Regions from separate parts of the Homo sapiens genome. Here all the other regions are linked to region 1. The links are contacts of gene promoters, found by promoter capture Hi-C in blood cells and fetal thymus (Javierre and others, 2016). All regions are on one chromosome and are shown on one strand. Each heading gives the region's core, a stretch centred on a gene start or on the middle of the fragment in contact. The rest is flanking DNA. Distances are from core to core; before and after follow the strand shown.

Region 1 (3,602 bases), core at 24-2,523:
CTATGTGACCTGAAATGAATCAGGATGTCTTCACCTGTAAAATGGGAACAATACCTATTTATCTCATTCAGTTCCTAGGAAGCTTGAATGAGACCACAGAAACTCTCTGAAATTACAAACTTGTAGTAAAGGTATCATCTATTCCTGGGAAGTGGGGGTAAATCACTGTACATGTGTATACTAGCAATTCAAAAAAGGAAAATCCCTGAACAACTTATTTTAAGATTTCCTCCACCTTACACAGGAGAGGATTAAAACACTGTCAAAAAGGTACTACCTGTGTAGTATGGGTGTGTGGCTTTTAAGAACACTGCCTTTTAAGCCTTTTGCTCTAGTTGTAAGAGGCACACGGAGACACATAAATGCAACACGTGCCATGGGTTATGTTCAAAATCACATTCAACAAGCGCCTATGTGACTGGCTATGGGAATTACTGTAGATCACTGGACCTGAAGACTCTTAAGTTTACAATACTCATGACTGTCCTGGGCCATAAAACTAAAACCTACAGCAGCAGGACAAGTTTCACTTGTAATAACTGCCTTTCAAAGTCTACGCGGATCTTTTCAGCAGCACAGTCTTTGAACACCGAGTATGAGGAGCGGTGTCTGAGTTGTGACATTTAAAAAACAAGGCCGGAGCAAACGTAGAGAGGGAGAAAGTTGTTTAAGAGAGCGCCAGTAGCAAAGCTTTGTACGACCCCAGGCACGTGGGGTGCTCGCTGCGCGTAGTCTTTCCACCGTAGGCAAGGAGATGCTTATGAGAACCTTTCTGGGGTGCTGGGGGGTTCCGTCCCGAAATGCTCAGCCCAATCCATGAGTCAGCAGCGGCGAGAGGAGGAAGCAACGGTAGGAGCAAAAGGAAGGCACCCCTCACCCTCCTTCCTTCTAATCTAGGGTAGGATTACTTTAAAACACGGAGCAAAAAGGCACTCGTCACGGCCCCATACGGCCCCGGGGCTAGTCGCCAGGGTCAAGGGTAGAGAGAGCCCAGGGTTGCCGAGGCGGAGGACTGAGGCAGGGGCAGCTGAGGTGAGAAGGAACCGAGGTTGGGTGGGCACTTACCAGAGGTCAGAGCGTGGGTGATGGCGGTGCCCCGGCCGTCCGCGGCGCTTGGCAGAAGCAGCATGATGGCGCCGGGTCTAGCCCGGTGGGCGCAGCGGCTCACGTCCCGGGCGGAGGGCGCTTAGGGTCCCCTCCAGCTCTACCTCTCACTCCGAGCCTCGCGCCTTGGCTCTAAGACGCCCAGGAACCGGCGCATGGAGACGACCAGTAAGCACTTCCGGGATGGATCTTTCGTGGTGTGGAGGCCAGTCTCACACCCTCCCACCCCCGCCAACGTGTGCGGTAACCTAGTTCTATACTGACTGAGATCCGGCTGGAGACCAAGTCGCACGAGAGAATGGTTCCTAGGCGCATCAGTTTTCCTGTAAAAAGGATTATATTCCACGTCCCAGTGCAATACATAGAACATAACCTTTAAAAGCAGTTCTTTTTATATTATCTTTAAGTTCTTACTGCTTTATGTATTAATCTGAACCTAATCAGTGATTTTCCCAGGAGCGCTATACTTTTAAGTAAAAAATGAAAATACCTGTATGAACCAGTATCGACGACTAGTATATACATTTGCGGAGAATTACGTACGTGTATTTGTGATACATTTGTGTTTAACTTGATGATGATAATAGCAGCTAATATTTGTCGTGCTATTACTAATTTACCTGCATTATATCTTTTAATACTCGCTTGGAGAAGAAACCTCTCTCTAGTGTGTTAGATTGTATTCCAAGGCCAGCAATATTTTTACCTTGTTCTAATGAAGTTTTTATTCAAGATATTCCCAATTATAGGACTCTGGGACTTAATTTTTTAATGTATAATAAAATCAATTGTATTCCTACTATATGCTTCCTTCTAAGACTGCAGTCAAAAGCAAAAACTAGCAAAAACAAACAGTGGGTAAAGGCTCACCCCCAACAGCAGTATCTGAAACAGGTTCAATAAAATAAACTTGATATGCCACTCTTTAGCAAGGACCACCAGAAATTAGTAAATTAGAAAATAACTTACTAATTTCATTATATTTTCACAATTAAAGTTTTTAAATATATTATATATATATATATGTATATTTTTTTTTGTAGAGACAGGGTCTCACTATGTTGCCCAAGGTGGTCTTGAACTCCTGGCCTCAAGGGATCCTCCTGCCTCAGTCTCCCAAAACTCTGGGATTAGAGGCGTGAGTCACTGTGCCAGGCCAATTAAATACATTTAATTGGTCTGTATATCTGCTGCATGATAAAATTGTCACTTCAAAACTGACTTTTCAAAAATTGAACTAAGGGAGGCTGAGGTGGGAAGATCGTTGAGGCCGGGAGGTGGAGGTTGCAGTGAGCTGAGATCACACCATTGCGCTCCAGCCTGGGTAACAGTGAGACCCCGTCTTTAAAAAAAAAAAAATTGAACTAATCTTCTGCCCCAAAACCTCTTCCTGATCCCTACTAATGCAACCACTGTTAAAACATGCTCCAAGGTGCAAAGTAACCTGACTCCACTTTCTTCATATTAATATATTTTTTTCCTCACACCTCCTCCCATTCAATTTTACCATTAACTCTAACATGGGTTTTTGTTTTTTTGTTGTTTTCTTTTCTGAGACAGAGGCTTGCTCTGTCGCCCAGGCTGGAGTGCAGTGGCCTGATTTCGGCTCACTGCAATCTCTGCCTCCCAGGTTCAAGCGATTCTCCTGCCTCAGCCTCCCGAGTAGCTGGGATTACAGGTGCGTGCCACCACGCCCAGCTAATTTCTGTATTTGTAGTAGAGACGGGGTTTAGCCATGTTGGCCAGGCTGGTCTCCAACTCCTGACCTCATGATCTGCCTGCTTCAGCCTCCCAAAGTGCTGGAATTACAGGGGTGAGCCACGGTGCCCGGTCGGGGGTTTTGTTTTTTAAAAAAATTGTGCTAAAACACACATAACATGAAATTTACGATCTTCACCGTTTTTAAGTTTACAGTAATGTTAAGTACATTCACATTATTGTGTAACCACCCTACAAAACTATTTTTATCTTACAAAACTGAAACTCTATACCCATTTAATCTCTTACAAAACTGAAACTATGCCAGTGGAAAAAACTGTCCACTGGAAACCATCCTTCTACTTTGTCTTTAGGAATTTGACACCTCTAGGTACTTCATATTTGTGGAATCATATAGTATTTGTCTTTTTTGTGACTGACTTATTCACTTAGCATAATGTCTTCAAGGTTCATCTGTGTTGTAGCTTATACTAGAATTTCATTCCTTTTTAAGGCTGAATAATGTGTGTGTGTGTGTGTGTGTGTGTGTGTGTGTGTGAGCGCGCATGCGTGTATCACATTTTGTTTATCCATTCATATGTAGATGGACACTTGGGTTGCTTCCACCTTATGGGTATCATGACTAATGCTGCTTATGGACATGGATGTACAAATATCTCTTTGAGATCCTGTTTTCAGTTCTTTTGGATACACATCCAGAAATCGAATTGCTAGGTGGCATGGTAATTATTTTTAATTTCCTGAGGAATCAATCATACTGTTTCCCACAGCAGTTGCAC
Region 2 (3,819 bases), core at 135-2,634, 1.8 Mb after region 1:
AAGAGACTTGTTGCTGGGCTTGGTGGCTCACGCCTGCAACCCCAGCACTTTGGGAGGCCAAGGTGGGTGGATCACTTGAGTCCACGAGTTCGAGACCAGACTGGGTGACATGGCAAAACTCCATCTCTACTAAAAATACAAAAATTAGCCAGGCATGGTGGCACATGCCTATAATCCCAGCTACTTGGGAGGCTGAGGCATGAGAACCACTTGAACCCAGAAGAGGAGGCTGCAGTGAGCCAAGATGGCATCACTGCACTCCAGCCTGGGTGACAGTGAAAGGCTCAAAAAAAAAAAAAAAAAAAAAAAAGACACTTCCTCCCCCATTTATAATGGCATGAAAACTGTCTCCTTTGTAGTTTTAAAATATTTCCAAAATAATTTTTCATAACCCTCATAATGTACTTTGGGAATACAATCTTGGTAATATTTGATGGCCTATATTATCAGATTGCTTAAAATTGAGTCCACAGAAGATGATTCAGTGTGGTCTTCATATTTAAAAGGACGGACATTTGAGAAACGGTGAAAGGGTATGACAAGGAAGTCACGTAGGCAAGAGATTCCTGGACTTGTCAAGCAGGTATTATAGTCTAGTCTGGAATTTTTATACCACCACAACATAAACTTCATGAGGGAAAAAACTTTCAGTTTTATTCATTGTTGTAGCCCTAGCTCCTAGGGGAATAAAAAATGGTGGGCAAAAAAGTAGACCATCAATAAATGAGCTAACTGAATGTTTATAACAACCACTTGAGGAAAGATAGACAGACAGATACAGGCCCATGAATGTGAACTGAATGAAGCTTCCCTGTAGTTCAGGTAATGGATGATCTGGAGGCCTTGCCCTGAATTGTGCAGGATTCCCCACAATTTTCTCGGCTTTCATCCTTCACATCAAGTATTCCACGCAAGTATAATTTGAGATGCTTTGTGAAAAAGAGCCGTGACCAGTTTACTGTGATGAGCACTATACTATATTCTTCCTTTTCAGATTACCAGTGTACATGTGTTTAAAAACTTGACACAATTGTCAGATTTTCCTAAACTTGTATACCCTTGCAGTTTCTTGTGGATAACACCTTTGACCCCCACAGAGTGTTATTCAGTGGAACAGACTCTGTGGGAAAACACTGCAGAATCCATGCTGTTACTAAATGTCTCTAGGAAAACTTGACTGACTTCATTTAGAAAATCACTTTAGAATATGCAATGCTTTAATAATAAAATAGGATAAGTTTGTTGCCAGAAAAGTCATCTGGTGACAGGATTTGAGATGTTATCCAACTCCCTGTTCTGTCCTCCGTTGATGCTGATTTTTTTTGTAAGGTCCTGTTTTCTCTAATTGTAGAGACTGGGAATTTTATTTCTAAAGATAAGTAATTAATGACATTGTGGTGTTAGTGAAAGGGAACCTGTTTATTATTTTTTTCATTTTTTTTGAGACGGAGTCACACTCCGTTGCCAGGCCTGGAGTGCAGTGGCACAATCTTGGCTCACCGCAACCTCTGCCTCCCGGGTTCAAGTGATTCTCCTGCCTCAGCCTCCCAAGTAGCTGGGATTACAGGTGCCCACCACCACGCCTGGCTAATTTTTTGTATCTTTAGTAGAGATGGGGTTTCACCATGTTGGCCAGGCTGGTCTTGAACTCCTGACCTTGTGATGATCCACCCACCTCTGCCTCCCAAAGTGCTGGGATTACACGCGTGAGCCACTGTGCCCAGCCACCTATTTTTATTAGGTACTCAGTTCAAACAAAATGAGGTTAATCAGCTTTAACTGCCTTCTAATAAATTCAAGATTTCCAAAATTGTTGAAATGCTTCCAGTTAGTTACATGTCTTTAAGTAACGTGATACGTGCTTGACATAATGTACACATGGTTCTTACTCATTTAAAAACAATGTGAGTGCTTGCCATTTGAGATATCGGATGAGCAAAGAAGGAAAGGTCACTGCTCTGGAAAAGCTTTCGTAGAGAATGGGGTAGAGGAAATAACAAACGAGTATCAAAATAATAAAGAGTGCCATGAGTATAAATTCCATCATCACATGATAGAGGAAATGGAGACACCACACAAGCCATACGTGTTATTTTGGAATGATTTTTATTAGTAACAAATAATCTTACCCATCTTTTTAGATTTATAAGTTTATCTTTGTTATATAAAAGGGTAACAAGTTTTTTTGAGCAAGGAATCATTTAATTTCTCTATTTCAAGACCAAAGAAGAATAGGGTGATTTTGTAGGTGGGCTCTGGCTTTCCTTTTCCTATTTTTTTTTTTTTTTTTAGATAAAGACAGGGCCTCGCTCTGTTGCCCAAACTGGAGTGCAGTGGTATGACCAATAGCTTACTGCAGCCTCCAACTCCTGGACTCAAGCAATCCTCCTGCCTCAGTGTCTGGAGTAGCCAGAACTACAGGTGCATGCTACCATGTTCCACTAATTTTTTTGTTTGTTTCCTGAGACAGAGTCTTGCTTTGTCACCTGGCTGGAGTGCAGTGGCGCAATCTCAGCTTACTGCAACCTCCACCTCCCTGGTTTAAGTGATTCTCCTGCCTCAACCTCCTGAGTAGCTGGGACTACAGGCGCGTGCCACACCTGGCTAATTTTTGTTTTTTTAGTAAAGACAGGGTTTCACCATGTTGGCCAGGATGGTCTTGATCTCTTGACCTCATGATCCACCCTCCTCGGCCTCCCAAAGTGCTGGGATTACAGGCATAATAAACCACTGCGCCCAGCCTAAATTTTTTTGTGGAGATGGGAGTCTTGCTTTGTGATGGGGATATTATTAAGCAGACTGCTTATAGGAAATTACAATGCTTGGTATTTACTCTTGGAAAACCATAAACTAAGACATATGTCATAAAAACAATGTATAGATTTCATGGGAAATCTATCGAGTTTAGATTATATAGCACAGGTGTTAGGGGCTATGGAAAGTCTGCAGGGGTTAATTAGGAATCCTAATTTCTCTATCTCCAGAGTCAGCTCTAACTACCTCAAAGAATAAAACTTATTTTTCAGTTAGAGCTATAAAATGGGAGGCAAATTTTGTCTTTAAATAGGTACCATATACATGGCTGTGTCAAAGAATGTACTGTATGTAATGGTGACTAGAAAAGCTGAATGATGTATGACCTTTAAGAAATTAAAAATAAATGTAGAAAATCAGGCACGTTTATGTTCCAAAATATTTGTGTATTTTAAGATAAAGCTAGGTCTAAAGCTGTTAGGAAATGTTTAGTGCTTAAGCTTTATTCTTACCCAGCTGTAGTAATGTAGGAAGAGTTTTGCTTTATGTAGCGGCAGTAATTGGAAAGAAGAGTAATACAGAAACCAGGAAACCTGCATAACCTGCATAGTAATTATGGCTCTGCTTTTGAATGAGTCACTTAATACACATGGGCTTTGGTTTCTTCAGCAGTATTGGACCACATTATTTTTTAAGATCCTGATCAACTCTAGAAGATTATGAACCATCTCTAAATACAGGATTTTGCTCTGACTATAAATTAGCTGTAGTGTTTACAGGGGAGTTTGATTTTTTAATTGAATGTTTATATCATATAGTTTTATCTCTGACCAAAACAAGAAAATATTTCTTGTATCCCAAACAAGAAAATATTGGACTATGTCAGACTCTGTTGGCATAAATTCATATTTACCTTACAACACCCAGGATAATCATACTACAAAAAATATCTTCCTTGGGTGCCCACCTGTGGGTAGTTTTTTATTTTACACATACAATGATTTTTGCCAAGACAAGTTTGTTTCTTCTGGAAAAATGTACTTTCCCCAAATTTTTTATTTTAAA
Region 3 (3,722 bases), core at 374-2,873, 1.6 Mb after region 1:
TGCAAAAGTGCAAATTTGATTTGGAATTCTCAAAGTCCTATTTATTACAGAAACAAAGGAACCCAGTCAAATGAAATGTGCTGGATAGAAAATTGTGGTCTTTCCATAGAAAAACCTGTTTCACCAGTGCTTTGTTATTCGAATATTTAAGGTATTCATATTTCAAGTTTATTAAACCAGTTTAAATGCTCCTCCACCTACTTATGATTAAAACTTTCAACTCTTTATTACCTTGGTTAATGTTGACTAAGGACCTCCATGTTGAGGGAAAGTGCTGGGGTTAAGCAAATTGAACCTTTGTAGGCCCAGACAGGACCTTAATCAAGATATAAGAGGCCAGGTGTGGTGGCTCACACCCATAATCCCAGTTTTGGGTGGCCGAGGTGGAAGAATCGCTGCAGCCCAGGGATGCTGAGGCTGCAATGAGCCTTGATCATGCCACTGCACTCCAGCCTGAGCAACAAAGCCAGACCCTGTCTTAAAAGAAAAAACAAAGACCCTGAACTGCAGTCACACTTTCCTAAATACCTAGTAAAATTAGCTGGTTAAATCTAGTAAGACGTTCCCCAAAGATTTACGGCAGATGCTGTTTTATATATATTGCTGTGTCCCTCTGTGACAGGAAGTTACAGGGTTCTTTTTACCAGTAGTCCTGTACCCGGGGCCTTGCAAATCAGTGTCATATGGTAGAGAACAGAATCTGATCACATTTCCTACTTCCTAAGCAAGTACCAGAATATACTTACTAAGCTTGTATACTGCCCTCAACTGCTATATATTTTTTTCTTTTTTTTTTTTTTTTGGTGATAGTAGGGTCAAATGCTAAATTGTTCTGCATAAGAAATAAGAATTACAAAGACTGGGCAGCTGAGAAGAAACAATACTGCATACTTAAATTGTTAAGGTAGGTCTTGTGGTTTTTTTTTTTTTTTTTTAAATCACACACCCAAAAAGCTTAGGTGATAACTGCAAAGGATTTTTTTTGGGGGGCGGTGGAGGAGAAAAAAGGGGAGGAGTATTTTTGCAATTTAAACATCCTCTGTAATTTTTCCCGTAAAATCATTCGTAAAATAAACATTACTCATTAGTGCCTTATGAAGTTCTCCTTTTGGGGAATGTGATTAAACATATGGCCTTTATTTTATTTTTTTGAGATGGAGTCTCGCTCTTGCCCAGGCTGGAGTGCAGTGGCGCGATCTTGGCTCACTGCAAGGTCTGCCTCCCGGGTTCAGATCCTTCTCCTGCCTCAGCCTCCCAAAGGAGCTGGAACTACAGGCGCCTGCAACCACGCCCGGCTAATTTTTTTTTTTTGTATTTTTAGTAGAGACAGGGTTTCACCGTGTTAGCCAGGACGGTCTCGATCTCCTGACCTCGCGATCCGCCCGCTTTGGACTCCTGAAGTGTTGGGATTACAGGCATGAGCCACCACGCCTGGCCACGGCCTTTATTTTAAAATTTGGCATAGGAGTCAAAAGCTGCCCAAGGAGGGCAGCTACCTATGGGGTGTGCATACATTCATGACCAATATTTAAGTCCAATATAGCTTTGATAATTGTTCTATAAAATGTTTACACCTCACTGAAGAATCTGTCGTTTTAAAAGAAAATCTTTACATTTATTGTATCCAATTAACTTTGTTAGTAATCTGCCAAGTAAAACAAGTATTCATAGTAATTAGTGACTCTATTGCATTAGAACTGTAACTTAGTGCCATTTTTGAAGACTGTTTTCCCAACAAGGAGGCATTATCATTTATCCAATTACTTTATTCTCTTTGAATAGCAAGCATGATGTAGGCCTCAGCTCACAATTTACTTACCTGATTAGCTTCCATTTCTCTTTAAGGATATTGACTATGTGACACTTCTAAGAAGGCTGACTAGTACGTAAGATTATGTAAAAATCCTACCAGAGTATGTACTAAAATAAAGTTAACATGTCTATTTTCTAGTTGCTTGTGATTTATCTTAATTTTCTTCCTATGTCACTAAGATATGGGTAAAGAGCCCTAAACTCCAAACATTTTTACATGTTAATATAAATTTAATGGTGGCATATTATTCCATCTACTGGCTGGGACATGGTATATATAATTATTTGCCTATTAATCGGTTCTGAATATTTGTATTCTGACTCTTGGCTAAGCTGGCTTCTGTCTTTTCTAACTACTGACTGAACTGAACCCTTTGATGACCAGCAAGGTCTCTGACTTCCAAGTGCAATTTGAGCACTATTTATTTTTAGAAGTTTTAAGTCCAAACTATTTCCTTTAATTGCTCTTGTCCAGAATACACAAGCTTTTTCTATATAGGGCCACATAAGAAATATTTTAGGCTTTGCAAGCCAATCTCCCTCACATATTCCTTTCCTTTCCCCCATTAACAACTCTTTAAAACAAACAAACAAACAAACAACAAAACCTGAAACTGGAAGTTTTAAGTTTACTGCCACATGGGTACAATCATATACTTAGGTCGATAACTTTATAGTTTTAAATGTAACATCTCACATTTCAAGCATCTCCTAAAACTTGCCATTGTAATTCTAGTTGCTAACATAATGGACATCATTATTTTTATGAAAATATTCCTATAGAATTAAAAATAACACTTGAAAAAAATTAAGATTGTTTTTCAAATAGCTTACTTGGTTAAAGTCTACTTATGGAGCAAGCTACAAGTCCATATAATCTTTGCTGTTTGCCACCTACCTAACCAATTCCTCATTTTACTCATGTTTTGTTAGACAGAATCAACTTAGGATATTGTCTTCCGTCCTAGGGACCCAGAGGAAAAGAGATGACCAAAGATGCAATAAACTGCCCCAATATACTGTGTCTATTTAAACAGAAATCAATCAGCTGTTAGGCAAGCCAATGGGTGCATAAGTAGGGAGAGGGGTCAGCCAACACTGGACACCTTAGAGCAGTGGTTCCCAACCTTTTTGGCACCAGGGACCCGTTTTGTGGAGGACAATTTTTCAATGGACAGGGCAAGGGGATGGTTTTGGCATGAAACTCTTCCACCTCAGATTATCAGGCATTAGTTAGATTCTCATAAGGAGAGCACAACCTAGATCCCTCACACGTGCACTTCACAATTGGGTTCTCACACCTATGAGAATCTAATGCGGCCACTGATCTGACAGGAGGCTGAGCTCAGCTATGATGTTCACTGGCCCATCACTCACCTCCTGCAGGTGCGGCCGATCAGGGGCCGGGATTGGGGACCTCTATCTTAGAGGGTTTTAGGCGAATCCTAAATAGTGTGTCTCCACTAATATTTGTTAAGTTTATGCTTAACATAGCAAGACTGATATTTGTGACAGCCCATAGACACATCTGCTCTCTTAAGATGTACAATGTTTCACAGGAATTTTAAGGGGTGTTCTTGTTTATATATTTGGCAGTTGTGTAAACTTTGGTCCTAGGAATAGAGAGAGATATGAGTCTCCAGGGACAGCAAAAACAATCAAATGGTAAAGAAGAGAGGCCATATTTTCTTTAACACCCTTAATTCCATCCTTATCTCTGCTCTTGGGTGCTTATACAGCACATTATTTGTAACTGTAGTCACTCTAAATTATCCCTTACTGCCTCTTTGATGAGGAAGAATGATTAACACAATGGAATGTTGGAAGGTTTAAAGTCTACACCTCATCTTTCCTGGTATCCTTGAATTTACTAGTCAGGAGGAGTTAAAATATAGTCATCTTTAAAAAAA
Region 4 (3,539 bases), core at 838-3,337, 1.7 Mb after region 1:
GAACTCATGTTATAGAAATACTACCATTTATGCAGAAAAGATAAATGGATGTACATTTGCAGTAGTACTTTTAATAGTGACAAATAGAAATAATGTCAATATTTACCCGTAGGGGAAATTGTTAAATAAATTTATATTCATATAATGAAATAAGCAATTATTACCAAGAATAAAGTATATATGTTGACATTTAAAGATGGAAAAAGTAAATCATGAATACATATATTTTCGGATTTTAAAAAGCAAAAATTGTGTAGATATAATGATGCATAGAAAAGTTTAGAGAAAGATACATGGCAATATTAACATGAGAATGTTTGGGAGTTGGGTGGAGACATAGTCTTACATTTTCTTATTACTGCTATATTTAGATTTTCTACAATCAGCATGTATTAATTTTGAAATTAAGAAACATTTCTTTTAAAATAATGAATAATTCTTAATGTAACAGCATAGACATTAGCTGAATATTGATTTTCTTGTTGTTGTTTTTTTTTTTTTTTTTTTTTTTTTTTTTTTTTGGAGACAGAGTCTTAACTCTGTCGCCCAGGCTGGAGTGCAGTAGCGCAGTCTCGGCTCACTGCAACCTCTGCCACCTGGGTTCAAGTGATTCTCCTGCCTCAGCCCCCAAGTAGCTGGGATTACAGGTGCCTGCCATCACCCCTGCCTACTTATTGTATTTTTAGTAGAGATGGGTTTTCACCATCTTGGCCAGGCTGGTCTTGAACTCCTGACCTTGTGATCCACCCGCCTCTGCCTCCCAAAGTGCTGGGATTACAGGTGAATATTGGTTTTCAAAGTACAGTCATGCACACATAACAACGTTTCAGTCAACACCAGACCACATAATACAATGGTGGTCCCATAAGATTATATTGGAGGTGCCGTCTACACGTGTACCATTTTTTATCTTTTTTATTGTTTTTTTACTGTACATGTTTTTTTCTCTTTTTAGAGACAGAGTCTCATTCTGTTGCCCAGGCTAGAGTGCAGTGACATGATCATAGCTCACTGTAACCTCAAACTTCTAGGCCCAAACAGCTCTCCCACCTCAACCTCCCAAGTAGCTAGGACTACAGACGTGTGCCAACACGCTTGGCTAGTTTTTTTTTTTTATTTTTAATGTCTGTAGAGAAAGTCTTGCTATCTTACCCAAGCTACTCCTGAACTCCAGGCTTCAAGTGACCCTCCTGTCTCAGACTCCCAAAGTGTTGAGATCATAGGCATGAGCCACCACACCCAGCCCTTATTTTCTATGTTTAGATGTGTTTAGATACAGAATACTTAGCATTGTGTTACCTACAATATTCAGTGCATTGTGTTACCTACGATATTCAGCGCATAACATGCTGTATAGATTTGTAGCCTAGGAGCAATAGTTATGCCATTTAGCCTAGGTGTATAGTAGGCTATACCATCTAGGTTTGTGTAAAGTACACTCTATCATGTTCACACAACGGTGAAATCACCTAATGATGTATTTCTCAGAATGTATCTCCAATGTTAAGCAAAGCATGACTATATTCAGAACATAATGGAGACTCTTCACAATCTCCTTTAGAACCATTAGATAACCTCAGTTTGTATCTCCTCTTTTTGCTGATTCTGGCACACAGCGCTTACAACAGCAGCCACTGAGAGCTAAATTGAGACTTCGTGAAGGGATGACAGTATATTAAGAAGCAGTTGACTGTAAAAAATGTTTTTTATGCTGCTAGTCTCATGACTAATCAGAATATAACCACTAAATATCCTTAAACTAAATAATAGTGCAAATAGTACTAAGTTCTAATGTAAAGTTTTAATAGGAGGTAGGATAAAGATTGTCATGAAAAATTTTTCAAGTGATGTTATAGTTTTGTAAAATAAAGGCACAGAAACAAATCATGTTATTGAGTATTTGCAAGGGAGAGATTAATTTTAGTGTGAACTGACCTCAGATGTAGGTTCACAACCTTGTTGATCAATAGGAATTAACCAAGTAGAGCTCAGGAGGATTGGTAAGAGTAAAGAAGTTGGGAAAGTGATGTATGTAAAATGCTAGGCCAGGGAGCTTGTAAGTCAACAACAGTGGGCAAATTGTATCAGTAGTTGATCAGTCTCCATCATCTAAGACCAGAATTGCTCATCTTACAGATAGCTGTTTATGTTTTTTTTCAGGTATAAATCCTGGTTTATTTTGAAACTTCCTATTACTTAAGTTTACTGACATTTCCAAGGCTTTATTATATTAATATCTGGTCACACTCAACACATGCATATATTTTTGAACACTGAAATGCATACTTCAGTTCCATTTGAGGTCCATATAGATTCTGTGTGTTTTAGTCTTGCTTAAATTATTTCTACTACTTCTTTGCACCCCTTTGCTAGTTTTCTCAGTGCCGTAGGGTTTATTAAATAATAATTGGACTCTAGTAATTTTTTTTAATGAGAGAGAGGGAAACTATATTTGAAATTGGATTGGGACATTTATTTTACTTAAACAGAAGTTTGCTTATGACACATAATCTAGATGGGATATATCTTATCTATAGTGTATCCACCTGCTGTAAGTAGATACTGTATTTGTATAGCCATTATTTTGCTGTAAGTACTTTATCATTTTAATTAAATTGATTAAGAGGAAAAAAAAAGAATGGAATTCTCTTTGATGCAACTTTTTCCCCCCAGACCAGAATCCGTAGAAGCTAGCCCTGTGGTAGTTGAGAAATCCAACAGTTATCCCCACCAGTTATATACCAGCAGCTCACATCATTCACACAGTTACATTGGTTTGCCCTATGCGGTAAGTGTTAAACACTTCTTTGAAAAAACATTTTTAAATTTAGAGATTGAAAGTAGATGCATGTGATACTGTGCTTGAAACGGCATGTTTGAAAAGCATGGTTGTTTCATACTATCAAAATAATTAGGCGTTTAATTTTTCATTAACCATTAAGCGATTAAAGTTCTATAAAAGTGAACTGTTTCTCTTATTATTTTGCAATTTATGCTGTTAATAGTTTGATATTATATTTCTTTACTTCCTAAAAGAATGCAGATAAGGTTGTATTGTACTACCTACTATTAATTTTGAATTATATAGTAATTAATTTTGTTTTAATTTTTTGATTTTTAGTTTTTGAATTATATAGTAATTTATATAGTAAATTTTATAGTTACCATTTATTGAGCCCTTGTTATGTGTCAGACATATATTATTTAATCATTAAAAACAACTTCATGAGATGTAGTTTTCATCTTTTATTTCATAGGTGAGAAAATAAAAGCCTATCTAACTTATTAAATATTGCATATCTAGTAAGAGGCAGCATTTAGATTCAAACGTAATTACATAACAACACATTTATGATACTATGGAGGTAGAATTATGAGATACTTACTACTTGGACCAGAATAAAAATTACTAAATTTAAAAAACTATATTATATGTTTTATAGTGATAAATATGTCTTGTTTTATTATTCTTTAGGCTCCATATTTCTGAGATGTGTGTTTTTCTTTTTCTTTTTTTTTTTTTTAACACTTCTATTCTC
Region 5 (3,530 bases), core at 706-3,205, 1.8 Mb after region 1:
ACCTCATTCAGTCATGTTTTTACACTTTGAACCTCTATTTATTTCCTTTTGAAAATTAGCTAATGATGGTACATTAACGCAGCTCACTTAGGGCTCAATCCTAATCACAGCTTCAAATTTTAGAAGAACATATAGGCCAAGTTTGCCATCCTCAATTTGTCCAACAAAATTCTATTTATGGTATTTAGTAAAGAAACATTTGTCTGAGAAGAAATGGTTTTACATCATCTATCCTGATAGTTTCAAACAGAATAAAGGTAACTAGCATGTGAAATAAAAATATTCTTCTTAAAAGGTTTGTCCTTCTAAGCATTTTAAATTCTTCACTGGCTTGAAATGTGCCTACTACAGAAATATGCATACAGAAGCTTTTGTGTGAACTGCAGAATCTTATACATTTTGATTCCTTGATGAAGTATATACTCTAAAATACAGTCTTCTACCAAAATTTCATTCAAGTTATTTAAAAGGGGGAGAAAAAAGGAGAATTTAGGAAATAACCTGAACTATGGATAGAAACTGAAGAAGTTCTCTACTCCAATGGAAAGTTTCCTTACTTTATCGTGGTAACTAGTTATGTATGGTCCAGGTATGGGAAGAAGCAAGTTAGTAAATCGGTTTTCACCTAAGAAGTTTATGACTCGGAAGATCTTATATCCACCTTTTCTCTGCCTTTGGGCAGTTCTGTCTGCCAACTTCTAGATAGCCAGCTCCTGTATCTGCTATAAACACATATGTGATCCACTGCTTGTCATTTTCCATGAAGATTTCACATGGACTACAGAAAGGAAAAGATAGATAGGACATTCAATTGAAGTCAGAGAGCTAGTTATAATGTTTAGCATAACCAGTGGTTCTCATTTAGTTTTTGTGCATTCTTTATCAACAAGCCGCCAAGAATCTGATAAAGCCATATTATGCCTAATACAAATGTATATTCCTTCTAGAACAACCGTTTCTGTATTATAAACTAGTTAGGCTGTTTTATCATAAGGGACACACCTGTAAAAATTCATAATCTAGTTTATTTTCCAACATAAGCAAAAACTGCATTAGACAAATTTCATTCAAGTATACTATCACCCTGATAAAAATCCTTTTACACTTAGGGAAGATATAAATTATGCCCTATGGTTCTTGTAAGGATGTTTCTCATAGAAATCACGGATAGCATCACCAGTCTACAGCCACTATCTATCACAGAATTTACATGGAAACCTACAGCCTCATTAGAAAAACTTAGCATGCAAATTTCATAAAGAAATTAATGAATGATCCATTCTACCTCACAGTGGTAATGTGATATAATGGTAATTCCTAAGAGGATTATGTGTCTTGTTTCCTAACAGCAAATGCTGTTTTGTTTTAAATTTGCAATGATCAAACAAATGCAGTTAGTATGTTTTTGATGAACCATGGATGAAAAGGGATCATTGATATTCTAGAGAATCAATCTATACTGTAGCTTTTCTCCTAAATCCCTTCTGCCCTTAAAAAACAATAAATGATTTCCTTATAATACGCCTCAATGCATGTTCTACAACTACATCTGCTGCAACAGGAATGCTGGTATTTAGTTTTAGTGACACTACTCTGATAGCAAATGTTCATTGATTCTATCATTTATAGGGCAATGACCAAGGCAATGTCTGGAAAAAAAAAAACCAAAACACTTTAATTTTTAAGACAACTGCAAGCACCTCAAACAATGGATTATTGTTACAACACTTGTTAGCTTTTCACAATCTAGTTATTGCAAAGGCATATGGATAAATGTTAATGGACAAAGTCAAAAACGAGGCACCTTAATGAATGTAAAATTTAAAATAAAAAGACATTCAATCCACTGACTTCTAAAAGAGGCTAAATATACCTCTATATATTACATTCTAAAATTGTATTGCCTACTATGGTTTGTATCCTGGAGTCTACAATTAATTTTAAGGAAATGCATAAACAAAACTGTGTGCAACCTGCAAAGGGAAAATCATTTTCTCAACTTCGTTTCATGGAAAGACAATGAAAAAGCTAGTAAAATTTGTTGTAGCCACACGTAAAGCTACCTATGGAATGAATGTGATCACTGTTATCTTTGAGCTGTGAGAAGTATTCTGCCCACTGCACTGCAAATTGTATATACCATACCTTGTGTTCTAGACAAGCATGATCATGCTTTTCCAAAAATATATGTATTTTTTCATTCCACACAATTAACACGTTTCTCCAATTTAATCTATGTAGAGCTTAACTTACAGCGCCCAGAGGAGGCAACATGACATGGTACTGAGCCATCACATTTTTAAAGGGAAATTGCTCTTCTTTAAAAGTACTTTTAAAAATATGCAAAATCACAAATGGGACTGCTAAATTATAATGCATATTTTAGAATGAGAAACATATCTTTTCTTCCTTTAAAGTGCCATATAGAGAATGACATCTTATAACCCAGAGCCACTTTGTTTAAAATCCAATGTGAAAAGACTGTTATGGAATGAAAAGTTTGCACAACTCCTTGGAGCAGTTAAAGTCCGCTACATGCAACATAGGCTACAAAGCACTCAAGACTTGGTAGCTTTTCTGAAATTTGAGTCCCCCTCCCATATTTAATGGAAAGTAACATTTACAGGGTGCATTTACATACACTATAATACAGGAATGATGTCCCTTTGCCAGAAGATAAAATTGTACATTTCCTTGCTATTTCTTGGTTCCAACTTGATAATTTCTTAAGATTGTAAATTATATAGTACTCAGCTAAAATATTTCTTCATAAATAGTTACAAAACCTGCCAAAACACAAAGGGGAAAGTATTTTTCATTCAAAAAAATGACATTTGAATGTCACACAACACAAGAAACAATGCTTAGAGACATGTTATTGTTTCCAGAAGAAAATGGTCAGTAAACTACTTAGCTGAAGACAAAAGACTACCCTTCCCCAGGATCACAGTGCACAAAAAGCAAAATGTCAAACAACAGTACCTCAAAGCAAAATAAAGGTCTGAGGATGAAGCCAGCTCACTTGTAATCCTGTTAAAGAATGAGAGTCACCGTTTAGGTCCAATGTACTGGGAACATTTGCTAGCTCAGAATGCAATATTGGTAGAATTTGCTAAGAATTCAACCAAGGATGCCGAAGGCATTCGCCAGCTGAGGCTCGTTTTTCTGGAACCATTTCTAACATCGGGATCAGGAAATCTGTAAACTGTGCAGCATCTTCATGGGGCCAGCCATACTTTTCCACAAGTACATCAAAGAGGCTCCAGGGCTTCAGCTTGGTGATGTGTCGCAGTTCTCCTACAGGGGAAAAAACAGGCCAATGTCAAGAAAGCTCCAAATCTGCATTCCCCATTGTTGGTCCAGTCAGGTTCTTTTCAGTGAAGCGGACAACCACCTGCTCAACACTTGTACAGCAACAACAAAGAACACCAGCTTTTCCCCACTAAGCAATAATCATTACATGTACATATGACCAAGGCATATTTCAAGTAAGCCTGGTGGATCTAAATAGAGGTTAATTAATAGTTCAT
Region 6 (3,388 bases), core at 705-3,204, 1.7 Mb after region 1:
AACCAACAGCAATATAGGTTGGATATAGAAGGATATCAGTCAGGAATTCTGATTGATTGAGATTACAAGGAACCCTTTCCATCTGGGACTCATGATAATTCCTCATAACGTAATAGCCGGAATGGAGAAAGACCATGGTAACCATAGGAGAAACCCCTTCCTCTTTATTAGACAGTGTTAGATTGGGTCCTACATTATTGCCACCACTTTCAACACCCACTTTGTTGGTATTGGAATGGTATTGGAGGTCTCTTCTTTGGTTTGAGATTTGTATGCAGAATTAATATGACCCTTTGATAGGCGTTGCTTCCCTGTAGTCTAGAAGTATGTTCATATCTGTAGGAGAACATTCCTAGTCTGTGTCCTACAATTATCAAAAACATTTATTGTTTATAACTTGAATATTTACTTAAGATATGAAAGATACACAGCAATTTCTCCCTATTATGTAGCAGATTTGATCTGAAACGGTATAAGACAGATACTTTTAAATGCACCAGGAAATGTGAACTCTAAAGACATCAAATTAATCTTGTGAATGCAGTAGTCACTCTCTTTTTATCTTTCTTTGTAAATTGGAATTTCTACCTTCCATTAATTGCCTTTGATTTAGGTGAGGTTATGGGGCAGGTAAAAATCTCATTAGCATAAACTAGCATAAGATAAGAGTGAATTGTGGAGTCAGACTGCCTATATTCAAATCTTGGCTTCACTATGTCTTTTAGAAGTTTCTTAGACTCTGTGTTCTTAAGTTTCTTCATCACTTTGCCTCTGAAGAGTAACAGATTATTGTCCTAAAATGTTGACTTTTGTTTGTTTGTTTGTTTTTGAGACAGTCTCGCTCTATCAGTGAGGCATGATCATGGCTCACTGCAGCCTTGATGTCCTGGGCTCAGGTGATCCTCCCACCTCAGCTTCCCAGGTAGCTGGGACTACAGGCACATGCTACCATGCCTGGCCTTTTTTTTTTTTTTTTTTTTTTTTTTTTTTTGTAAATACGGAGTGTCGCCATGTTGCCCAGGTTGGTCTTGATCTCCTGGACTCAAGCAATCCACCTGCCTCGGCCTCCCAAAGTGCTGGAATTACAGGTGTGAACCAGCATGCCCGGCCTAAAATGTTAATAGCTTATAATGTTTCTTTCTTTGTAGACCATACCCTTTTGTGTTATTCTACTCTAAATTTCATGGGCTAGAAATGTGTGTTGATGCAAGGACTTTTGGGAATGAGGCTCGATTCATCAGGCGGTCTTGTACACCCAATGCAGAGGTAAGCTTATAGAAATTTTTTGGGGAGATGTGGGTGCTGGGGGTGTGTTGGAATCTGAGCAATAAGCACAAAACTCAGGTCACTGACCTAAGACACTTTCCACCTGTTGGTGCATTTTATACTGCCCAGCCTGTTTTTTTGTGAAAATTTATGTGATAACTGGCTATGAAGTCTTTTTTTTTTTTTTTTGAGACGGAGTTTCACTCTTGTTGCCCAGGCTGGAATACAATGGCACGATCTCAGCTCATGTAACCTCCGTCTTCCGGGCTCAAGTGATTCTCATGCCTCAGCCTCCCGAATAGGTGGGATTACAGGCACGCACCACCATGCCCGGCTATTTTTTTGCATTTTTAGTAGGGACGGGGTTTCACCATTTTGACCAGGCTGGTCTCGAACTCCGGACCTCAGGTGATTTGCCCATCTCAGCCTCCCAAAATGCTGGGATTACGAGTGTAAGCCACCATGCCTGGCCGCTATGAAGTCTTAAAAATTACTTTGCACCTTGAAGAAATGATGATGCTCCTTATAAGAGGAAATATTGGACTTCCTTTTTTTTTTTTTTTTTTTTTTTTTTTTTTGAGGCAGTGTCTCACTGTCTCCCAGGCTGGAGTGTGGTGTCATGAGCACAGCTCACTACAGCCTCCGTGACCTCTCATGCTCAAGTGATCCTCCTGTCTCAGCTTTCTGAGTAGGTGGGACTGCAGGCGTGTGCAACCATGCCCAGCTAATTTTTTAAATTTTTGCAGAGATGGAGTCTCATTTTGCTGCCCAGGCTGGTCTCCAACTCCTGGGCCAAGTGATCCTTCTGCCTTAGCCTCCCAAAGGGCTGGGATTACAGGCATGAGCCTGCCCGGACTTTTTAAATCATTATTATTATTATTATTATTATTATTTTTGAGGCAGGGTCTTGCCTAGGCTGGAGTGCAGAGGTGCAATCATGGCTCACTGGAGCCTCAACTTCCTGGGCCTTTAGGAGGTAAAGTTATCTTCTCACCTCAGACTTCTGAGTAGCTGGGACCACAGGTGCGTGCCACCATGCCCAACTAATGATTCTTTAATTTTTTGTAGAGTTGGGTTCTCCCTATGTTGTCCAGACTGGTCTGGAGCTCCTGTGTTCAAGCAATCCTCCTGCCTCGGCCTCCCTAAATGCTAGGATTACAGGCATGAGCCACCAGGTCCAGCCTAATACTGGACGACTTTCCTTCTATCTTGGAAGCTCTATTTATGGCTCAATACATGCGATGATTTAAGTTAGATGACAAAGCTAAAATCTAAAGTAGATTTTGTATGTTCTACTGTAAAATTTTTAATAATGTTATATTTTAGTGTGGAGTAGAAAATCGTGTTGGTTTTGTTTTTTACATGTCAAAATGAAGCTTTTTAGTTTTGTAATTATATAATGTTGCAGCCAAGAATGTAGGTGTTTTTTTTTTTTCCTCTCTTTTCTTTTTTTAAAAGACAGGATCTTGCCATGTTGCCCAGGCTGGCCTGGAACTCCTGGGCTCAAGTGTTTGTTCTGCTTCAGCCGCCAGAGTAGCTGGGATTATAGGCATGCGCTGCTGCACCCAGCTAAGAGTACAGATTTTGGAACCAGACTTAAATTTATTTCTTCTCTGTGACTTACTAGCTTTTTAACCTCAGTTTTATCTGTAAAAAGGTGATATGAAGACTGAAGGAGTTAATACATATAAAGTATATAGAATAGTGTCTTGTCATAGAAAAGTAGCGTTTGCTCAACCATTATTGCACTCATCAAACCTAAGAAGGCCAGGCACAGTGGCTCACACCTGTAATCCCAGCACTTTGGGAGGCCAAAGTGGGTGGATCACCTGAGGTCAGGAGTTCAAGACCAGCCTGACCAACATGGTGAAACCCCATCCCTACTAAAAATTAGCCAGGTGTGGTGGCACGCACCTGTAGTCCCAGCTACTTGGGAGGCTGAGACAGGAGAATCACTTGAATCTGAGAGGTTGGGGTTGCAGTGAGCCAAGATTGCATCATTGCACTCCAGCCTGGATGGCAGAGTGAGACTCTGTCTCAAAACAACAACAGCAACAACAAAAAACCCTAAGATGCCACCAGTTATAAGACTCCTGATTTCAGAGATGCTAAAAGGTGAAAA
Region 7 (3,656 bases), core at 90-2,589, 1.7 Mb after region 1:
CAGATGTTGGGAGGAGCCTTATTTTTTTCTTGACATTGAAAGAATAATTTTTTGTATTACCTACAAATTTACTTAACATGGAGGAACAGTATTTGTTGTTGAAATTGTTTTCTACACTAAACTGGAAGTGGATGGTATTTAACTAAAAATCTTGCAATTGCTATTAAACAATGAGTATTTTGCATTATATAAAATAAACAGTATTTTACTTTGTATAATATAAAATGAGTATTTTACTTTATATAAAATACTCTGTTTAATAGCAATTGCAATATTTTTAATAGCAATTGCAAGAGATAAGAATTAACCATATTATGATGCAAACAAATTGTTTTTTTGTTATTGTGAACTTCCATGCTAAGTGCTACATTAAAAATCAAATGAAGGTGACCCAGAGTAAGTTAATTAGATTTTAATTCATATCTTTAAGGATAAAAGAAGTTTTTATTAACCATTGGTAACTAGGATGCTTTTTACTTAAATCAGAGTCAGGAAAAGCAGTTGGTCTTATATTTCACGAGATAACATGTTTTCACTTGATATGAAATCAGTTCTTTTTTTCCCTCATGAACAGCTCATAATTGGATTTTATTTTTGGACAGAAAAACTTTTTTTATTGTTAGGTGAATTTTACAGTTTTATTGGAAATCTCGTTTGGTTATTTACCAAAACTATTTAAGCTTTTTGGGATGTTGGACATTTTCAATGCAACAGGTCAACAAAGAATTCTTTTTTGATGTGTTGCATTAAGATGCCATCAAAACAGACACTACGTCTTTTAATGAGTAAATAATTAACCTATAATATGTGTAAACTACTTGTTCATCATTTTTAATTAAAATATTTTGTATTTCAAAACTGTTTCAAATATGAAATCTGGGTTTAGAAAGGATCTGCATGCAGGTCAACGTGATAAGCAATGATCTATGTAGCTTTATTTTTACGACAATTGGACAGAGGTAATTTCTTAGCACCTCTTAGGCTGCTTAATTTAGAGTTAATCCAAAGGAAGAAACATTCCTTCAGAAGACTAGGACATATCAGATATTAATTATTAAAAATAGGCTGGGCACGGTGGCTCATACCTGTAATTTCACTACTTTGGGAGGCCGAGGCAGGCGGATCATTTGAGGTCAGGAGTTTGAGACCAGTCTGGCCAACATGGTGAAACCCCATTTCTACTAAAAATTACAAAAATTAGCCGGGCGTGGTGGCAGGTGCCTGCAATCCTACCTACTCAGGAGGGCGAGGCAGGAGAATTGCTTGAACCCAGGAGGCGGAGGTTGCAGTGAGCCGAGATTGTGCCACTGTACTTCAGCCTGGGCGATAGAGTGAGACTCTGTCTCAAAAAAAAAAAAAAAGTAAATAAGTAAATTAAAAAAAAAAATTCTTGGTCCTGAATTTTAATATTGAGAAAGATGATATTGTGTAATCACACCTGTGTAATAGCCAACTTGGTTGCAGCATTTAAGGTCATGCCTGTCTAGCATACGATAGTGGATTGAGTTAGTTTTGGTTTGTGGTACTTACAACTTTAAAGTTCACTTGGCCTGGCATGGTGGCTCACGCTTGTAATCCCAGCACTTTGGGAGGCTGAGGCAGGTGGATCACCTGAGCTCAGGAGTTCAAGACCAGCCTGGCCAACATGGTGAAACCCCATCTCTGCTACAAAAATTAGCTGGGCTTGGTGGCGGGTGCCTGTAATCCCAGCTACTTGGGAGGCTGAGGCAGGAGAATTGCTTGGACCTGGGAGGCGGAGGTTGCAGTGAGCTGAGATCGTGCCAGTGCACTTCAGCCTGGGCAACGAGCGAAACTGCATCTCTAAAAAAATAAATAAAGTTTATGTAATTATGCTGTCTCATGTTTTATCTGAGACCAAAAATGTTTAAATTTTTTCATTTATGTTGACTTTTGTTTTCATAGGGTATTTAAAATAATTTCCATTTAAAGTCTTAAAAATTTACACTTATAAATTATTTTAAACTTATTTGAGTTAAATAAGCTTAAAGATTAAATATCTTTTCCTTACCGTTTGGCCTAAGATGAAGCCTAGTGTCAGTGGTTTTTAGTAAAAAGTGAGGAATATGGTGAAAAGAAAAGAATTAACCATTACCACTTAGGATATTGTCAGGGAAACATAGTTTGGGTCTTTCAGAGAATGTGTATGAGAAACATACACTCTTCTAATATTTTTGTTTTCTTATTTCAGAGACTAATATATGTAATCGTTTCTATTTTTGAGTTTACAGAGAGATATCTCCAGTTCCTCTTACCATCTTGCTTTATGTAACATTTAAAGAAAGACAGCGTTCAGGAATTTGAAAACCCCATTTCCTCTTTAATGAAGTGGCTGAGATGGGAAGATTCATGATGTGACTAATTTGAATGGTTAGGACTGTGGTCCAGTAGCCATAAATAGGGGTCTCAGGTTGGTCTGATACATAGTAACTCTTACCCAGAAAATAAGTCTCTGCTTCTTCTCTTTAAATGAAGTTGCTTAATTGGTTGCCTTGACACAGGCTTATTACATCTTACATCATTAAGCCTTCGCTGTAACAATATTTTTGAAGCACAGACAAAAGATGAATTTGAGTAGCTATTATTTTCCTGGCACCACAGATGCAGAGAGAGATGAGACTGTCCCTGCTTTGAGAGAACCCGTAGTTTATTTCACCTTCTTAAAAGCCTGCTGTTTTAGAGTTTTTTGGATGCAAGGAACAGAAATCAGCTCTAGCTAGCTTAAATAAAGGATTTGTTATAAGGCTATAGGGAAATCTCACATAATTTATTTGAAGAAAGTACAGATGGGCCTCACAGGAATTGGCAAGGTGTCAAAGAGCCACTATTCACCATCTTGATCCCCTCTAATTATCTGAGACTAGTTAGAGAGATGGTGGTGGGGTGGGTGTTCATGGTTTGTAGAGTGGCGTTTCTCAGAGTAAAGCAAGAGAAAGACACGTTTAATTCTCCTGAAAACAATTACCTTTTTCCAGGAATGTTCAAAGGTACTTGGGAGGGCTTCCAAAACTAAATAATTGATATATCACACTGATGATTCAATTTTTAATTAAAAAATTGCCACACACACATGATGAGGAATGCTAAAAAACCAAGATATTTTTGGTTTTAACTTAAAAATAATGTAAAATTTACTGAAAATTTACTTGAATAGTACAAATAACTCTCTTATACTGTGTACCAAGATCACCGGACTTGTGACATTTTGCTGTTTGCTTTATTATTCTCTTTATATATACACCTGGTATTTTTCCTGAACCATTTGAGAGTGGGTTTCATTGCCAGTAGTACTAGCCCCCTTACAGCCCTTATTACTGAAGTATGCATTTCCTAAGAACACGCATGTTTTCCTAAGTAACAGAGTAGTTGTCAAATTCAGGAAATTTAACATTGATGTAATACTAAATAGTCCATATTCTAGTTTTATCAGTTGTCCCTATTATGTCCTTTATTAGCATTTTTTTCAGTACCATTAGCCGATCCAAGATCACAGATTGCATTTAGTTTTGTTGTCCCTTAAGTCTCTTTTAATCTGGAACAGTTCCTCCATCTTTGTCTTTCATGACATTGGAAGGCTTATTATTTATATATTGCTCCTCAGTTTGGCTTGGTCTTAAGGTTTCTTCATTATTCAGGTT

Evidence for each region. The method cuts DNA at HindIII sites, captures the fragments that hold promoters and counts their contacts. A CHiCAGO score of 5 or more calls a contact.
Region 2: a contact is called between a fragment that was not itself captured here and the fragment with the promoter of DNAJC2 in region 1, in 1 of 17 cell types (naive CD8 T cells). The highest score is 5.4, in naive CD8 T cells.
Region 3: a contact is called between a fragment that was not itself captured here and the fragment with the promoter of DNAJC2 in region 1, in 4 of 17 cell types (activated CD4 T cells, erythroblasts, M1 macrophages and 1 more). The highest score is 6.9, in activated CD4 T cells.
Region 4: a contact is called between a fragment that was not itself captured here and the fragment with the promoter of DNAJC2 in region 1, in 1 of 17 cell types (activated CD4 T cells). The highest score is 5.3, in activated CD4 T cells.
Region 5: a contact is called between a fragment that was not itself captured here and the fragment with the promoter of DNAJC2 in region 1, in 1 of 17 cell types (total CD4 T cells). The highest score is 5.5, in total CD4 T cells.
Region 6: a contact is called between a fragment that was not itself captured here and the fragment with the promoter of DNAJC2 in region 1, in 5 of 17 cell types (total CD4 T cells, M1 macrophages, naive B cells and 2 more). The highest score is 7.3, in total CD4 T cells.
Region 7: a contact is called between a fragment that was not itself captured here and the fragment with the promoter of DNAJC2 in region 1, in 6 of 17 cell types (M1 macrophages, activated CD4 T cells, total CD8 T cells and 3 more). The highest score is 8.5, in M1 macrophages.

The regions. Positions count from the first base shown.
Region 1 is chr7:103,343,494-103,347,095 of GRCh38, forward strand. DNAJC2 (DnaJ heat shock protein family (Hsp40) member C2) reads right to left here and starts at 1,274. Exons shown (of 17, transcript NM_014377.3): 1 at 1,066-1,274. The coding sequence starts at 1,129. It also overlaps a transcript of PMPCB not described here. RefSeq lists an enhancer at 1,217-1,456. The HindIII fragment of the contact is 5,590 bases long and covers 689-3,602 here.
Region 2 is chr7:105,095,962-105,099,780 of GRCh38, forward strand. All of the region lies in intron 15 of KMT2E (lysine methyltransferase 2E (inactive)), which reads left to right. Among named protein-coding and RNA genes, the nearest start is that of KMT2E, 84 kb to the left of the region's middle. The HindIII fragment of the contact is 1,161 bases long and covers 805-1,965 here.
Region 3 is chr7:104,986,194-104,989,915 of GRCh38, forward strand. LINC01004 (long intergenic non-protein coding RNA 1004) reads right to left here. Exons shown (of 1, transcript NR_039981.2): 1 at 1-3,722. Among named protein-coding and RNA genes, the nearest start is that of LINC01004, 3.1 kb to the right of the region's middle. RefSeq lists enhancers at 813-1,314, 1,315-1,814. The HindIII fragment of the contact is 1,343 bases long and covers 953-2,295 here.
Region 4 is chr7:105,059,491-105,063,029 of GRCh38, forward strand. KMT2E (lysine methyltransferase 2E (inactive)) reads left to right here. Exons shown (of 27, transcript NM_182931.3): 4 at 2,674-2,788. Among named protein-coding and RNA genes, the nearest start is that of KMT2E, 47 kb to the left of the region's middle. The HindIII fragment of the contact is 6,535 bases long and covers 1-3,539 here.
Region 5 is chr7:105,114,726-105,118,255 of GRCh38, forward strand. SRPK2 (SRSF protein kinase 2) reads right to left here. Exons shown (of 16, transcript NM_182692.3): 16 at 1,649-3,297. The coding sequence ends at 3,113. KMT2E (lysine methyltransferase 2E (inactive)) reads left to right here. Exons shown (of 27, transcript NM_182931.3): 27 at 1-294. Among named protein-coding and RNA genes, the nearest start is that of KMT2E, 100 kb to the left of the region's middle. The HindIII fragment of the contact is 3,178 bases long and covers 367-3,530 here.
Region 6 is chr7:105,077,698-105,081,085 of GRCh38, forward strand. It overlaps KMT2E (lysine methyltransferase 2E (inactive)), which reads left to right. Exons shown (of 27, transcript NM_182931.3): 12 at 1,149-1,266. Among named protein-coding and RNA genes, the nearest start is that of KMT2E, 65 kb to the left of the region's middle. The HindIII fragment of the contact is 1,371 bases long and covers 1,270-2,640 here.
Region 7 is chr7:105,018,762-105,022,417 of GRCh38, forward strand. All of the region lies in intron 1 of KMT2E (lysine methyltransferase 2E (inactive)), which reads left to right. Among named protein-coding and RNA genes, the nearest start is that of KMT2E, 6.4 kb to the left of the region's middle. The HindIII fragment of the contact is 1,322 bases long and covers 679-2,000 here.